2 separate regions of the Homo sapiens genome follow, and region 1 is linked to region 2. Evidence: promoter capture Hi-C in human tissues and cell types (Jung and others, 2019). All regions are on one chromosome and are shown on one strand. Each heading gives the region's core, a stretch centred on a gene start or on the middle of the fragment in contact. The rest is flanking DNA. Distances are from core to core; before and after follow the strand shown.

The links. Contacts are between HindIII fragments. The study calls those that stand out against the background at their distance.
Region 1: a contact is called between the fragment with the promoter of ONECUT3 here and the fragment with the promoter of APC2 in region 2, in 1 of the 25 tissues and cell types used here (H1 embryonic stem cells).

What each region holds. Positions count from the first base shown.
Region 1 is chr19:1,752,128-1,755,027 of GRCh38, forward strand. ONECUT3 (one cut homeobox 3) reads left to right here and starts at 1,379. Exons shown (of 2, transcript NM_001080488.2): 1 at 1,379-2,727. The coding sequence starts at 1,536. The HindIII fragment of the contact is 24,245 bases long and covers 1-2,900 here.
Region 2 is chr19:1,448,409-1,451,370 of GRCh38, forward strand. It overlaps APC2 (APC regulator of Wnt signaling pathway 2), which reads left to right and starts at 1,713. Exons shown (of 15, transcript NM_005883.3): 1 at 1,713-1,930. RefSeq lists a silencer at 1,560-1,759. The HindIII fragment of the contact is 30,284 bases long and covers 1-2,962 here.

The DNA.
Region 1 (2,900 bases), core at 129-2,628, 300 kb after region 2:
GGTTCAGAAAATCGCATCTCCAATGTGTAGCCACGTCTACAGGGGCCAGGAAATCTGGATGCAGGTGCAAAGCTGGGGCCGGGGTTTGCCCAGAAGGTTTGCACCAAAGGGGAAGTGACAGCCTGACTGTGTCCTCCCCTCTTCCTTCAGCTTTGAGCCCTGATGCAACCCTCTGAGATGGGGGTAACTGGGGGCTCCCGCGAACCGACTGCCTGACCCATCCCCTTCCTCTTCTAGAAAGTGCACAAGCGTTACCCCGGGGGTGGGGGGGGCAGAGGCAACGGGGAAGCAGGAAGGGGCTGAGGCTGGTTTTGGACTCTGCACCGTAGCCTCTGGCCTACAAGACAGAGCATCCTCTAGATTCTGGTCTGGCCCCTCCAGATCCGCAGCCCTGACCTTACCCCACTGGCGGGATCTAGTCCCCTGGGGGTCTCTCTGATTATAGGAGCCCTTCCCCCATCTATCCCAGTTCCCAGGGGCCCCTGGGGCTCACCTGTCTCCAGGTGCTGAGAAAAAGGAGACCCCTGCCTCCCCCCACATTGAAGAGAAGCCCCAGGGACAAAGAGGAGTTTGCACCAGCGACGTCTCAGAAGACAGGGGATCCAGCCTCAGCCTCCGTGGGCTGGAGGGTGACAGGGGCTCTTAGTGGTCACCCCCAGGCTCCAGTGCCTCCAGCGGCCGCACTGTAAAAAGGCCCTGCAATTAGAAGGGGCCTTTGGCAACCCCGAGGCCGGGCAGCCCATTGTACAGTTGGGGAAACGGAGGCCCAGGTGCCCACACATGGGCAGAGGCTGACCCCTGGGGCGCACGGAGGCCCTGACCTAGCCTTAGGACCTCCCTTTTCCCCCACTTCCTCCACAAAGAGGTTGTGGGAAGGGGGCTGTGACTCCGTAGGTGTGAGTGGGAGTCGGGGGAAGCTGAGCTTGCAGTGGGGATCTAGCTCCTGGGGGTCTGTAGGGAACGGGGGGGGGGGGGGACACGTACATTACAGGCGACCGTCCAGCCACACTCCCAGAAACTCCCTGGAGATGGACTTGGGGGTGCCAGGCAGAAAGCCACATCTGGGACTCTGGAGAGAATCACACAGAGACGCGAAATCGGAGACTCTGGGTCGAGGCCCCCAGCCCCACCTGGGCAGAGTCTGTCCTCGGACCCCCGCCCGCTGTCCCCCGGGTACGGCCTGCCCCAGCGGGCGCGGGCGGGCGCAGTGGCCAGGGACGCCGAAGCCCCAAGTCTGGCCGACTTCGGCCTGCTTGGTGCTCGAGTGGGGCCGGGGCGGGCGGAGAGCGAGGCTGCGGGAGGCAGCGGTGGCAGGAGCGGGTGGGCGGGGGCGCTGACGTCAGACCCGGGCCCGGGCGCCGGCGGCCGCTCCCCTGCCACATCCTGGTGGCCGCGCTCGCAGCCGGGCCGGGCCGTGCGCCGCGCAGCCTGGCAGCCTCGCGCGCAGCCACCGGGGAGCGGGCGGGAGTCATGCAGCGGCCTTGAGCACTAGGGGCCGGCGCTGAGGAGCGCGCGCGGCGGGAGGGCAGCCGAGCATGGAGCTGAGCCTGGAGAGCCTGGGGGGCCTGCACAGCGTGGCCCACGCGCAGGCGGGCGAGCTGCTGAGCCCGGGCCACGCGCGCTCGGCGGCGGCGCAGCACCGCGGCCTGGTGGCGCCCGGGCGCCCGGGCCTGGTGGCCGGCATGGCGAGCCTGCTGGACGGCGGCGGCGGCGGCGGCGGTGGGGGCGCCGGGGGCGCGGGCGGCGCGGGCAGCGCGGGCGGCGGCGCGGACTTCCGCGGGGAACTGGCGGGCCCGCTGCACCCGGCAATGGGCATGGCCTGCGAGGCGCCGGGCCTGGGCGGCACCTACACGACGCTCACGCCCCTGCAGCACCTGCCGCCGCTCGCGGCCGTGGCCGACAAGTTCCACCAGCACGCGGCGGCCGCGGCCGTGGCCGGGGCGCACGGCGGCCATCCCCACGCGCACCCGCACCCGGCGGCCGCGCCGCCCCCGCCACCCCCGCCGCAGCGTCTGGCGGCCAGCGTGAGCGGCAGCTTCACCCTCATGCGCGACGAGCGGGCGGCGCTCGCCTCCGTGGGCCACCTCTACGGACCCTACGGCAAGGAGCTGCCCGCCATGGGGTCGCCGCTGTCGCCGCTGCCCAACGCGCTGCCGCCCGCGCTGCACGGCGCCCCGCAGCCCCCGCCGCCGCCACCACCCCCGCCGCTGGCCGCCTACGGCCCGCCAGGCCACCTGGCTGGGGACAAGCTGCTGCCGCCCGCCGCCTTCGAGCCGCACGCCGCGCTGCTGGGACGCGCGGAGGACGCACTGGCCCGCGGGCTGCCCGGAGGCGGCGGCGGCACAGGCAGCGGCGGAGCGGGCAGCGGGAGCGCCGCGGGGCTGCTGGCGCCGCTGGGCGGGCTGGCGGCGGCCGGGGCGCACGGGCCGCACGGGGGAGGCGGCGGCCCCGGCGGGAGCGGCGGCGGCCCCAGCGCGGGCGCAGCGGCCGAGGAGATCAACACCAAGGAGGTGGCGCAGCGCATCACGGCGGAGCTGAAGCGCTACAGCATCCCGCAGGCAATCTTCGCGCAGCGGATCCTGTGTCGCTCTCAGGGCACGCTCTCCGACCTGCTGCGCAACCCCAAGCCGTGGAGCAAGCTCAAATCCGGCCGCGAGACCTTCCGCAGGATGTGGAAGTGGCTGCAGGAGCCAGAGTTCCAGCGCATGTCGGCGCTGCGCTTGGCAGGTAGGAGCGTGGCGCGCAGGGCCAGACCCTGGGGGCGCCGGCTCTGGACTCCCGAGCACCTAGCGGGGCGGCGGCCGATGCCCGGGGCCAGCGCCCCAAGCCCCGCCCGTGCGCCCCGGCAGCCCGGGACCCCCTATCAGGAAGCTAGACCGCGATCCGCGCCGCTGCCCGTT
Region 2 (2,962 bases), core at 463-2,962:
GGTGGTACATGCCTGTAATCCCAGTTACTGAGGAGTCTGAGGCAGGAGAATCACTTGAACCCAGGAGGCGGAGGTTGCGGTGAGCCGAGATGGCGCCACTGCACTGCAGCCTGGGGGACAGAGCAAGACCCCATCTAAAAAAAAAAAAAAAAAAAGGCCGGGCGTGGTGGTTCACGCCTGTAATCCCAGCACTTTGGGAGGCCGAGGCGGGTGGATCACGAGGTCAGGAGATCGAGACCATCCTGGCTAACGTGAAATCCCGTCTCTACTAAAAAATACAAAAAATTAGCCTGGGCGTGGTGGCGGGCGCCTGTAGTCCCAGCTACTCGGGAGGCTGAGGCAGGAGAATGGCGTGAACCTGGGAGGCGGAGCTTGCAGTGAGCCGAGAACGTGCCACTGCACTCCAGCCTGGGCTACAGAGCAAGACTCCGTCTCAAAAAAAAAAAAAAGAAAAAAAAGAAAAAGAAAAAAGAAAAGATCCCCTGTGTCTGCCCACTGCATTGCCTCCCCAGACCCAACCAGTGGGGACAGCTGCGTCCAGCTCTGGGGGCTCCCAGACAGCCAGGCCGAAGGGCTCTCAGCCCCTGGCAGTGCTGGCCCGGGACAAGGCCCTCGGGTCTTCAGCTCAAGGCCCAACAGGAAACAGCACGGGTCCTCCCTTGCCTTTGTCTACGGGGCCTTGAATACTCGGACCTTCCCACCCTCTCCTATCATTCCCTGCACCAGCCCTTGCAGAATCTTCCGCCTCCTCTCCATTTTACAGAGGAGGAAACCGAGGGTTGAGCGGCGAATGATTTGCCCTGCCTGCCCAGCACGGAAAAAAATCACTCTTCTGGCCCCAGTCGCCTCCCTTTCTGTGCTGTGAGTCTGTGTCCAGAGCAGGAAGGGCTGCTCCGAGCTGCAGGGACGGGCTCTGTGTGTTAAACCTTCAAATGGCTTCCAGGGACTCATGGAGCATCCAGGACACCTGGAGATGGCGACTCCTGGGACCCCTGGCCCTTCCCTCCTCTGGCCTTCGGTCCGTGAGGGTGAATTAAGTGTGCCACCCACCAGGGGCAGAGACACATGGAGACAGAGATTGAGAGACAGAGAACAGAGGGGGAGACAGAAAGAGAGAGGGACATGAAGAGCAACGGAGTTACAGGAGGATCTGACGCTCCGTTGGGGAGACAGGGAGAAATGTGGGGAGATGCAGCGTCCCAGGTGCTCCCCAGTGGCCCTGCCCCTCCTCCCCTCTCCCCTCCCCACCAGGCAGGACCCTCAGGGAGCTCCAGCCTGGACCCGAACCCTGTCCCACCCTGACGCACCTGCACCAGGCCAGGCTGGACCTGTGGGGTGGGTGCAGGCCTGGCCCCAGCCCGGCCACTGCCCTGGAAACCCCTCCCCCGCCAAGATGCTGATGTAACATCCAGGATTTGATGTTTTACTCTCCAATTCTGCAAATCCAGACGCAGGAGGTTTTAAGAGGCCGTTGCACCCTGCAATAAAGTGCGGGACACAGGAATCTTGGTCCTCGGGGCACCCCCTTCCCTCGGGGGGGTTTCGCCCCCCGCACTCACGGCCCCTGAGCCCGCGCGGAGGCCCGACGCCCCGCGGCCGACGCCGGTCCCCGCCCCGGGCCGCCATTGGCTGTTGCCATGGCACCAGCCCGTCTTCCCGCGCCCTCATTGGCTGTCTCACCCGCATCCCTCATCCCGCATCCTCCCCCGCTCGCGGTGGTCTCGCCCAGCGCTAGGAGCGGCAGCGCCGCCTGCCCAGGCCCGGACCGGGCTTTGTCCGCCCCGGAGCCCCTGCCCGCGCCGCGGAGACCCCGGAGCCCGCGCGCTCCGAGGCCACCCCGGGCCGGGATTTCCGGTGGGGCCCGCGGAGCCGCGCAGAGGGAGGAGGCCCCAGACCCAGGCGCCCCGCCAGCCCAGCTGCACGTAAGCGGGTGTGTGTCCTCGGGGAGGAGGGCAGGGGCGCGACCTCCGCCTCGCGTCGAGGTTTCCATCCCTGGCTCTCAGCATTGCCCGTCAGCACAGACTCTGGACCCTCCATTTCCCCAGAGTGGGAGCTGGAGGGGAAACTGAGTCCCGGTGAGCTGGGCGTCAGCGTTTCTGCAGCCGGTCCTGCGCACACACCCACTCACGGGCTTCACCATCCGGACCTCCCTGAGGTGATCGGAGGAAGGGATGGGCAGGCCAGTGGTGTGTCTTCGGGGGTGTTGCTGCACCTCTCTGGGTGTCAGTTTCCCTCTCTGGAAAGAGGGGGTTTGGATTAAAGGAAGGAGAAAGGCCCCTTTGGGCCTGGCTTCCCATACCTGTGCCTCCCTCCCCTGAAATGCAGCCCGCTCAATAAGACCAGCCCCCAGTCATGGTGCCTTCAGGGAGTGATCGCTCAGGAAGGCCCCCAGGAGGCTACACGATGCAACCTGGGGGTGAAAGTAGGCAGAAGAGCTTCGTGGAAGAAGCTGCACTGTGTGGGATGGCAGGACTTAGAAAAGGTGCTCTAGGCAGGGCAACTGCACGTGCAAAGGCCTGAGAGAAGAGAGCCTCCAGCCTCTAAGTGAGTCGCGGTGTACATGGAGGAGTCGGAGCGTATCCTGAGGGCACTGGGGAGCCATGGAAGGTGTTTGAGCATGGGAGAAATGGGATCTCACTTGTGACGTTTAAAGCTCCCTCTGGCTGTGCATGGGGGACTGTGGGAGGCCAGGAAGAGGCTGATCAGAATGTCCTCACAGAGGGGTGTCAGGAGCTGGGGGAGGCATGATCCCGCTGGGCAGAGCTTGGAGGGACTAGCTTAGTCTGATGAGGATGCAGAAATGACCACCGAATGTGGGGAGAGGGAAGGTGTCTGAGGCTTGGCTTCGGTCAGCTGAGAAGAACCACGTGGGGGAGGCCTGGGTTTGGGGAGCAGGAGGCAGACATGTGTTGCTTTGCACGTCATCTGGTCCTTCCACCTGGCTGGGCATGGGATGGTGACC